Regions from separate parts of the Homo sapiens genome. Here region 2 is linked to region 1. The links are contacts of gene promoters, found by promoter capture Hi-C in blood cells and fetal thymus (Javierre and others, 2016). All regions are on one chromosome and are shown on one strand. The core of a region is centred on a gene start or on the middle of the fragment in contact, and the rest is flanking DNA. Distances in the headings are between cores, read along the strand shown. Region 1 holds the start of EIF3B (eukaryotic translation initiation factor 3 subunit B). Region 2 holds the start of TTYH3 (tweety family member 3).

What was found. The method cuts DNA at HindIII sites, captures the fragments that hold promoters and counts their contacts. A CHiCAGO score of 5 or more calls a contact.
Region 2: the fragment with the promoter of TTYH3 here is called in contact with the fragment with the promoter of EIF3B in region 1 in 1 of 17 cell types (neutrophils); the score reaches 6.0 in neutrophils.

The regions. Positions count from the first base shown.
Region 1 is chr7:2,352,197-2,357,342 of GRCh38, forward strand. It overlaps EIF3B (eukaryotic translation initiation factor 3 subunit B), which reads left to right and starts at 2,631. Exons shown (of 19, transcript NM_001037283.2): 1 at 2,631-3,224. The coding sequence starts at 2,726. It also overlaps a transcript of SNX8 not described here. RefSeq lists enhancers at 1,422-1,977, 1,648-1,717 and silencers at 2,518-2,657, 2,838-2,927, 2,978-3,087. The HindIII fragment of the contact is 9,918 bases long and covers 1-5,146 here.
Region 2 is chr7:2,628,886-2,633,988 of GRCh38, forward strand. It overlaps TTYH3 (tweety family member 3), which reads left to right and starts at 3,101. Exons shown (of 14, transcript NM_025250.3): 1 at 3,101-3,393. The coding sequence starts at 3,271. RefSeq lists enhancers at 2,526-3,257, 3,990-4,722, 4,502-4,611 and a silencer at 3,042-3,451. The HindIII fragment of the contact is 11,109 bases long and covers 1-5,103 here.

The sequences.
Region 1 (5,146 bases), core at 1,381-3,880:
CCACCATGCCCGGCCATAATTTCCTTCTTCTAATAAGGACATCAATCACTGATTTAGGGTCCACTCTCGTCCACTTTGACTTCATCTTGATTACATCTGGGAAGACTGCTTCCAAACACAGTAGCCCCCCCGACCCCCAGTTTCACATTGCACTGTTTCAGTTACTTATGGTCAATTAGGTTGGAAAATATTACATAATGAAGAAAATTTGACAGAGAGAGACACAGACACACCACCAGACACCACATCCACATAACTTTTATGACAATATATTGTTATAATTGTTCTATTAGTTATTGCTGTTAATCTCTTACTGTGCCCTATTGTAAGCATGCATATGTAGAAAAAACATACTCCCAGGCGTATTGGCTCACACCTGTAATCCCAGCACTTTGGGAGGCCGAGGCAGGCGGATCACAAGGTCAGGAGATCGAGACCATCCTGGCTAATACGGTGAAACCTCGTCTCTACTAAAAAAATACAAAAAAAATCAGCCAGGCGTGGTGGCGGGCACCTGTATTCCCAGCTACTTGGGAGGCTGAGGCAAGAGAATGGCGTGAACCCGGGAGGTGGAGCTTGCAGTGAGCCGAGATCGTGCCACTGCACTCCAGCCTAGGCGACAGAGCAACACTCCGTCTAAATAAAAAAAAAAAAAATTGTCATCCCTTATTGTACAGATGCGGAAACTGAGGTGGAGGCATTAAGTGACCTGCCCAAAGATACACCACTGACAGCATGATGAGGAGTAGTCAAACCTGGTACTAGGCATGGGAAGACTCTGCTTCTTTTTCGCTCTTTTAAACACCGTTAGGATGGGATGGGTGTGGTGGCTCATGCCTATAGTCCCGGCACTTTGGGAAGCTGAGGGAGGAAGACTGCTTGAGGCCAGGAGTTTGAGACCAGCCTGGGCAACACAGTGAGATGCTATCTACAAATAAAGAAATTAGCTGGGCACGGTGGCACATACCTTCAGTCCCAAGTACTTGGCAATGTACTTAATGTCACTGAACTGTACACTAAATTGCATATTAAAATGGCTAGGCCCTGCGCGGTGGTTCACGCTTGTAATCCTGGCACTTTGGGAGGCTGAGGTGGGAGGATTCTCTTGAGGCTGGAAGGTCCCGATTGCAGCGGCGCTGTGATTATGCCACCGCACTCTAGCCTGGGCAACAGAGCGAGACCCTATCTCTGAAAACAAACAAAACAAAAAAACTATAGGATGAAATATACATAAAATTTACCTTTTTGGCATTTTATTTTATTTTTTCGAAGACAGGGTCTCGCTATGTTGCCCTGACTGGTCTTGAACTCTTGGGCTCAAGTGATCCTCCTGTCTTGGCCTCCCAAAGTACTGGGAAGAGAGGTGTGAGCCACCGCGCAGGGCCTAGCCATTTTAATATGAAGTTTAGTATACAGTTCAGTGGCATCAAGTACATTCACCATGTTGTACCATCACCACCGTCATCTCCAAAACGTTCTCATCCTCCCAAATTGAAGGTCCGTCCCCGATAAACACTCCCCACTCTCCACCCCAGCCTCTGGGTACCACCTGTTTTATTTATTTATTTAATTTTCGTAGAGATGAGGGCTGGCGTGCGGGGGGTGGTGGTGCTATGTTGGCAAGGCTGGTCTCCAACTCCTAAGCTCAAGCGATCTTCCCACCTCAGCCTCCCAAAGTGCTGGGATAACAGGCGTGATCCACTGGGTTGTTTTCTAGGATGATTAAGACATCCCCCAACCAGTGGTTGTCCTCCACTCCGGCAAAAAACAAGATAGAAGCCACATGCACCCAATGCCCGTCCCGTGAGCACCCGCGCAGAGCGAACCGCTCCGGTCCCTCCGGAGTCAGCCTCGAGCTCCACGCGGCGAGGACCCGCCCCCGCCCCCACGTGACCCGCGCTGTCCCGCGCTGAAGGCGGCGGCCTCGGATGGACTGAACCACTGTGAAAGCCCGAATGGGGGGAAACAGGCAGTGACGGCCGCTAGGGAAGGACTGGGGGTAAGCGATTAAAGAAACTTCCATACATTTTTGTATCGCGCCAGGCAGTCGTCCTTCTAGTCGTGTGGGCCCTCTCTGGCTCGCCCCGAATTCCTTTTCTATTTTGAAGTAGTCTGTCCTTTTGCTCAGTCAGTAGGCGAGTCCAAGTGACAGACACGGACAGGGGGGACTTTAGTAACGTAAACTAAACGGTTTCCCTAGCGAAAGGCTCAGACGCCCTGAGCAATCGCCTGTTGAGTCTCCACTCTTCCAGGGTATTAACTGTTGAGTTAGAGGACATTTTCCTAGCATTCCGGGTACTAAAATCATTTCTTGTCCCCGCCTTCAGCTCCACAAATAGTTCAGTCCCGCCCCGCAGCGTCCGACGGGAAAGGAAAGGGGGAGGACGCCATGTTGGACGGAACCATCTGCTGCCACACATGGGGTGGTCAATGCTCCCATGAGTTTACTGATGCACAGAAACAACCTTGCTGAATGGAATTAAGCACTTTCTTGTCACAAATATATCAGTTTGATGATTTTCGGGCGCGGTCTTGTGGATGCGAGTCCTCTCAGGGTCGTTCGTGAGGCCCCAGGGCGTGGGTGCGCCCCCCGCCCCGCGGCCTTGGTGCGGCCTCCCCGTCGCACGCACATGGCTGGGCTGTAGCCGTCGCGGCGCGCGGTGCGGCCTGGGAGAGTCGGAAGCGCGGCGGCCGCGGAGCCCTGCGAGTAGGCAGCGTTGGGCCCATGCAGGACGCGGAGAACGTGGCGGTGCCCGAGGCGGCCGAGGAGCGCGCCGAGCCCGGCCAGCAGCAGCCGGCCGCCGAGCCGCCGCCAGCCGAGGGGCTGCTGCGGCCCGCGGGGCCCGGCGCTCCGGAGGCCGCGGGGACCGAGGCCTCCAGTGAGGAGGTGGGGATCGCGGAGGCCGGGCCGGAGTCCGAGGTGAGGACCGAGCCGGCGGCCGAGGCAGAGGCGGCCTCCGGCCCGTCCGAGTCGCCCTCGCCGCCGGCCGCCGAGGAGCTGCCCGGGTCGCATGCTGAGCCCCCTGTCCCGGCACAGGGCGAGGCCCCAGGAGAGCAGGCTCGGGACGAGCGCTCCGACAGCCGGGCCCAGGCGGTGTCCGAGGACGCGGGAGGAAACGAGGGCAGAGCGGCCGAGGCCGAACCCCGGGCGCTGGAGAACGGCGACGCGGACGAGCCCTCCTTCAGCGACCCCGAGGACTTCGTGGACGACGTGAGCGAGGAAGGTGAGGGCGCCCGGGGCGGGGCTGGCGAGCGGCGCGGGAGCGTGGCTGGGGTTCCCGAGGTGGGAGATATCGTCGGGCTGTGCCACCGGTTCGTGCAGAAGTTCCAGCGAGGGTGTCCGTGTGTTCCTGAGAAGCCACCGAGGGAGGGGTTCCCGAGTGCCCTGGAAGTGTTCTGAGAGCCCAGCGCCTCCCCTTTTCTTTCCTGAAAAAGGGGACAGGGTGGAGCTCACTTCGGGAGCCAGGCATTTGCATGACAACCAGAAATCTGAGAGGGTGGGAGAGGGCACATGGGGTACTCCGTTATGGCTGGGTGTGCTGTGAGTGTAGCAGCTGGGGGTACGGCAAAAACCGAAGACCCGGTGGCAGGTTTGCGGGTCTACGTGTCCCCAGAGCTGACCAGTCAGACCTCCCAAGGTCTGGATCGGAGGAACAGCTTGTGGCAGAGCCGGTGATTTTGTCCTCCTGCCCCTCAGAATTGTCCATCTCCAGAGACTTCCTTAGTGGGACAGGCACCCTGTGAAATTCCAGTTTGATTTTTCTTTATCTCTTGCGCTAAATCTATAAAGAGAGTTATTTTTCCAGGTTTTAATATTGCCGATAACAGCCAGCTTTGCCTTCATCTCAACCTTGATTGGATTTACAGGCATATTTTTGCTTCCTGTCTCAGAGATTTTTTCCTGAAGCTACTTCTGATGAGAGCTGGTCTCATTTGTTTTTCTTTTGTTTTTTAGCTCTCTTAAGCCTTTAAGTTGGGAACACATCAGCCTCTGCAGATTGGCTAAGTTGATACTAGAGTGAGAAAAATAAAAATACCCTTGCTGATGTAGCCAGCGATACACCAGGACAATTTCGGGAATAACATGGAGTTGCCAATTTATGATTTAAACGTATTTTTAAAAGGCTATCAGAGGGCCGGGCTGGGTGGCTCACGCCTGTAATCCCAGCACTTTGGGAGGCCGAGACGGGTGGATCACGAGGTCACCATCCTGGCTAACACGGTGAAACCCCGTCTCTACTAAAAATAAAAAAAAATTAGCCGGGCGTGGTGGCGGGCACCTGGATTTCCCAGCTACTCTGGAGGCTGAGGCAGGAGAATGGTGTGAACCTGGGAGGCGGAGCTTGCAGTGAGCCGAGATCCTGCCACTGCACTCCATCCTGGGCGACAGAGCAAGACTCCGTCTCAAAAAAAAAAAAAAAAGAAAAAGAAAAAAAGGTTATCAGAAATACAAGTCAGCCAGGTGTGCTGGTGCACACCTGTAGTCTCAGGTACTTGGGAGGCTGAGGCACGAGAATCACTTTAACCCAGGAGGTGGAGGTTGCAGTGAGCCTAGATCCCACCACTGCCTGGGCGACAGAGTGAGACCCTGTCTCAAAAAGTGAAAAATTAAAAAATAAAAACGCTGTCAGTTACTGTGACCATTACTATATTACACTTTTTTTTTTCATAAAAGACATTTTAGCATGAAAAGCAGGAAGGACACCACAAACTAAAGACTTTGGGAACATCTAGTCTACGCCCCTCAGTCCTGAGGAAACTTGTCCCTGAAGGTGGAGTAGGCTGCTGAGAATTCCCAGTGGGTCTATACTGCTTGGCCCACCAGACTCTCCTGCTCAGAACAGTGTTCTTTCTAACGCTTCAATTGTTATTATGGTTTAAAAATCAAAACTTTTGGTTTAATGATTATTTTGAGCCCTTGGATATTCTGCTACTTTTTTAAAAAGCATTATTTGAGCCCATCGAATTCACAGATTTCTAATACGTAGATTACTTCTGGAATTGGGAAGAGTCAGAGGATGCTAATATGACGACAGGGTTGGCCAGGCTGGGTGACGGCTGTGGGTCCTCAGCGGGCCCACGTGGCCCTGAAGGTGCAGTGTTGGCCAGAGTGACAGGTGAGGCATCTGGTCCTGAGGACTAAGGC
Region 2 (5,103 bases), core at 1,851-4,350, 280 kb after region 1:
CCTGTCACCCAGGCTGGAGTGCGGTGGCACGATCATAGCTCACTGCAGCCTAGATCTCCTAGGATCAAGTGATCCTCCCGCCTTAGCCTCCCAAGTAGCTGGAACTACTGTGGTGGCACAAGCCACCACACCCAGCTGATTAAATTTTTTTGTAGAGAAGGGTCTCACTATGTTGTCCAGGCTGGTCTCAAACTCATGGCCTCAAGCGGTCCTCCTGCCTTGGCCTCCCAAAGTGCTCGGATTTCAGGTATGAGCCACTGCTCCCGGCCCCTTTCTTCAAAGAAGGTGACGTTCACAGGTGCCAGGAGTTAGGACTTGAACATATCTTTTTGGGGAACATAATTCAATCCACTACACCTGAGTTATCATTTCTTTCTTTCTTTTTTTTTTTTTTTTTGAGATGGAGTTCGCTCTGTCACCCAGGCTGGAGTGCAATGGCGCAATCTCGGCTCACTGCACCCTCCACCTCCCGGGTTCAAGCGATTCTCCTGCCTCAGCCTCCCGAGTAGCTGGGATTACAGGCATGTGCCACCATGCCTGGCTAATTTTTGTATTTTTTTGTAGAGACGGGGTTTCACCATTTGCCCAGGCTGGTCTCGAACTCCTGACCTCAGGCGATCTCCCCTGCCTCGGTCTCCCAAAGTGTGGGGATTACAGGCGTGAGCCACTGTGCCTGACCCTAAGTTATCATCTCACATCATGTCTGCATCAGACTTTCTGGCTTTATCAAAAGGAAAGGTACAATTTTGCCAGGCTTCTGGAAACAGGGGAAGGAACTCCTGTACCCCCTGCCTGCATGTGTGTACCCTGGCAGGGCTGCCAGGCTGGTGTGGAGGGCACTGGAGTTGTGGTGGGGGGAAGCAGGAGGTCTGTTTGTGGCCATGGGAGCTGCTGCTAACAGCAGGAACCAGAAACGATCTCAGGCCATGAGGACAATTTCTGCAGCTGGCCAGGGACTGCCCTGTTCATCCCTGGAGTTATGCGACACAGAACTCTGAGGTCAGAGTCAGCCCAGGGCACGGGCCGTGCAGGCGATCCCCTGGCTGTGGAGATGAGGTCACAGGCTGGATGCTGGAGCAGTGTCAGGCTAGGAGTGGGCGTCCTGCCTAAGCCACCTGTTCACAGTGAGCAATCAGCTGGCGCCAAAGAAGAGGACTCACCTGGCCAGGTACCAGCCCACTCCAAGTAGGTAGCCTTGGTCTTAGGGGGTTGGGGGGGGCTTCATTCTGCCTGGAGCTCCCACCATCCTTGGCATTGGAGAGAGAGGAACCTGAGCCAGTATCCCCACCCCACCCCAAATTTCTGGCTCTTCGGCCTTTAGGGATGGAGAATGCGACCTCCCCCCTTCTGCCTGGCTGTTATTTCCCAGCTGGGTGGTGTCTCCAAGTTATCCAGCGGGTGGAAACCGCAGCTCAGCTAGTCCCTCTTGCCCGGTGCCCTATCACAGGAAAACAGGCGAGTCAGGGCAGTCAATGAGCCAAAGTCCAGGCCTCCTGGGAAGACACTGCCCGGAACCGTCCCTGCCTGCAAAGAGCTCTTCCTGCCAGGAACGGCCTGCCTGCCCACAGAGCTGGCCAAGTCGGGCACAGCAGATGGTGGAGCCCGGGTGTGGAAACCTGTTTCTCAGTACACAGGAGGTCCAGGAATAAGGCCCCAGGTGATGAAGCAGAGCCAGGATGCACCCACTGCCCTAGAGTGCGGAGGGAGGCGTGCACCTGGGCCCAAGCACGCACTATGTCCATCCTCCTGGCTCTGGCAGCTCCCATCTCCCCTTTAGCAAAGGAGGAGGCACAGGCATGGGGAGGCCCTGTTAGGAAATTTGGCTGTGTGGCTCCAAAGCCCATGATGGGCCCTCTCTGGCAGGTGCCTGAATTTTTAGGCCCCAGGACACCAGAACAGGGCACCGTCTTCATCTTAGGTCTTGACAAAAGACTCAACCTTCCCCAGAGGGAAGGCCGGATGGGGACTGAATCTACCTGCGGATCCACTTAACACTCGTACCTTTTTAAAAAAAATTTTTTTTATTTTTGAGATGGAGTCTCACTCTGTTGCCCAGGTTGGAGTGCAGTGGCGCAATCTCCACTCACCGCAACCTCCATCTCGCAGGTCCAAGCAATTCTCCTCCCTCAGCTTCCAGAGTAACTGGGATTACAGGCGCCCGCCACCACGCCTGGCTAATTTTTGTATTTTTAGTAGAGACGGGGTTTCACCATTTTGGCCAGGCTGGTCTCGAACTCCTGACCTCAGGTGATCCGCCTGCCTCGGCCTCCCAAAGTGCTGGGATTACAGGCATGAACCACCACCACGCCCTGCCAACACTCGTAGCTTTATCATCCCCTTTTACAGACAAGGACACCGATGCACAGAGTGGTTAAGTAACTTGCCCCAGATCACACAGCTCTAGGTGCCCCAGCCAGGCCCTGAATCCAGATCATGTCCATTGTACAGATAGGCCACTCGGTGCCTTGCTGGGCGCTGCGGGCTGTGGGCTGTTGTGTGTGCAATGGGGAGGCCAAGACCAGCCCAGCCCACCAGGCCGGACCCTCGAGTCAAATAAGAAACATGCAAAGATCCAAACGAAGAGCGAATTCATGGAATGAAGCGCAGCTGCATATGCAGCCAGGGTTCCAGCCCCCACGGCCACGTGGAAAGACTGGCTGGCCCGGGTCTTACAGCGCTGAGGGTCGGTCTTCCAGCGCCTTAGGGGCCAGGCGTCCCTCCAAGAAGGCGAGGAAGTAGGCGGAGCTTCTGCCGGCGGACTAATGACGGTACAGAGGCGGGGCCGAAGGGCGGGGACACGTGGAGGGGCGGGGCCATTGGGTAATGGGCGGGGATGCGAGTGGAGGGGCAAAACCATCAGGTAAAAGGACCAATAGAGGTTCAGGAGCGAGTGGGCGGGGCACGCTGTGGGGCGGGATCGGCGGGGGATAGACCAATGGTGGGTAAGAGGCGGGACAGAGGGCGGGGCGCGCGGGGGCTGGGCTGGCGGGAGGCGGGCCAATGGAGGCTCGGGGGCGGGGCCGGCGGGCGGACGGGCGGGGGTGCGGAGGGGGCGGCGGCGGCGGCGGCGAACAAAGAGGCGGCGGGCGCGGGCGGCCGAGCGGAGCCGAGCGCAGCCGAGCCGGGCCGAGCCGGGCCGGGCCGGGCCCAGGAGCGCGCGGATGATGCGGGCGGCCAGGCGGGGGTCGACGGGTCCCTGAAGCCCGCGCCCCGGGCCAGCAAGGGAGCCCCGCGCAGGCCGCGCGCATCCGGAGGCGGCCGGGCCCCGCCATGGCCGGGGTCAGCTACGCGGCGCCCTGGTGGGTGAGCCTCCTGCACCGGCTGCCCCACTTCGACCTGAGCTGGGAGGCCACTAGCAGCCAGTTCCGGCCCGAGGACACCGACTACCAGCAGGTGACATGGGCCTCTCGGGGTCGCGGGGTCAGGGACCCCAGGTCACGGCCCCCTCCTCTCCCAGGGTCACGGCCCCCATCCCCGAGGGCCTAAAGACCCCTCATCCCCCCCTCCAGGGTCACGGCCACCTCCTCCTCGCAGGTACCGGCCTCCTTCCTTCTCGAGGGTCCCTTCTGAGTCCTAGGACCCTTTCTTCCAGGGTCATGGCCTCCTCCTCAAAGGTCTAAATACCCTCCAACCCCCAGTGAGGGTCCACGGCCCCCCTCCCGATTCTGGCCTTCCCTTCTGGTGTCACTAAGGCCCCTGGGTTTCATGGAGCTGCCTCTCCCCACTCCGTGAGCCCCCTTGGCCAGTGGAGGGCCTCTCCACCATCACTGTTGGCGGCCTGGTGCTGTGTCCCAGCAGAGACCCCTCCCCAGATGACCCCCAGGCTCTGAGATCAGAGCGGGTGCCTGAGCACATTGGGTGCAGGCAGGCAGAGACTCCTCGCCCACTCACCCCCGACTGGGGAATCCCACTGCCAGGCTTCCAGTGGGTGAATGGCCTGGGCCGCCGCCAGCCCTCTGTGGCCGGTAATGACCCCCTGCTTGGCGGTCAGGCTGTGGGATGTACACAGGGTGCCGTGTGTGGCCGTGGGAGACCAGGCTGCCTGTAGCCCCCGGGGGAGGGAGGCCCGGCGGCCAGGAAGCACCGTGGGCCTCAGGCAGGGAGGCTGGAAGCGGCTGAGCCCAGGCAGACCTGGGGGGCGGCTGGGGGCCCTTTGCAGCCCTCTCCCAGGGGAGCCCTTAGCCTGGCATCATGCCAGGCCCCAGCACCACCCCCATCGCCAAGCTACTGTCATTTGAGTGCGGGGCAGGGGACCAAGCTGTGGGCATTTCCTTCCTGCCTAGAGATCCGGATTCCAGAAGCCCCGTGACCAGGGTCCCTGGTCACCCGGAGTTTCTCTCTGGACGGATCATGGCAGAGCCCCATGGTGGGGTGGGGATGGCTTTGCTTATCAAAATGGCTTGGGAATCCGGTATTCCGCGGGCAGCCTAGCACCTGGACTCTTCAGAACTGCGTTGTCTGTGGCCTCCCGCATCCAGAGGAGGGAGGCGGAAGTGGAGGAGCAGGGCACCTGGGAGCCCACTGCTCCCAGCCTCGCGCTCACTTGCACCCAGGCCCCCCAGCCGAGCCGATGACGTTTCCTAACAGATGAGGAAGGGGGCGAGGGATCGGCCCAGGCACGCCCAGACACAGCAGGGAGGAGGGAGGCGGAAGGATTGGTATAAAATCTCACGCCTGCGTTCTAGAAGCCCAGCCCTGGGGGACCGTTCAGTGTGGGGGCAATGCACATTCAGGAACTTCTGGAACTTATTCCATGCTGATGGCTTTGCCACTTGTCCCTGGAGGACTCTGTTGAAGCTGCAAGGAGGGTGTGCTTCACTTTGGAAAGTTCTCTGCCCTGAGGGTTTGGCCCATTTGTCAGTTCTTAAGCTCCGGGGCAGCCCTGGGGCGTGGGGGGCGGCTGTTTCCTGCTGCCCCTTGGGCTGCCACCTGCCCGAGCTGCCAGCCACAGTTGGACTTCCTTCCAGCCCTCCGGGGTGCCTGCATTCCCACATTCGAGACAGGCAGTGAGAGGGAGTGAGGGGCGATGATGTCTGCAGCCCACAAGAGCCTCCGGGCAGTAGCCAGGCCCCTCTGCTCAGCCTGACCTGCCTGGCCTCCAGC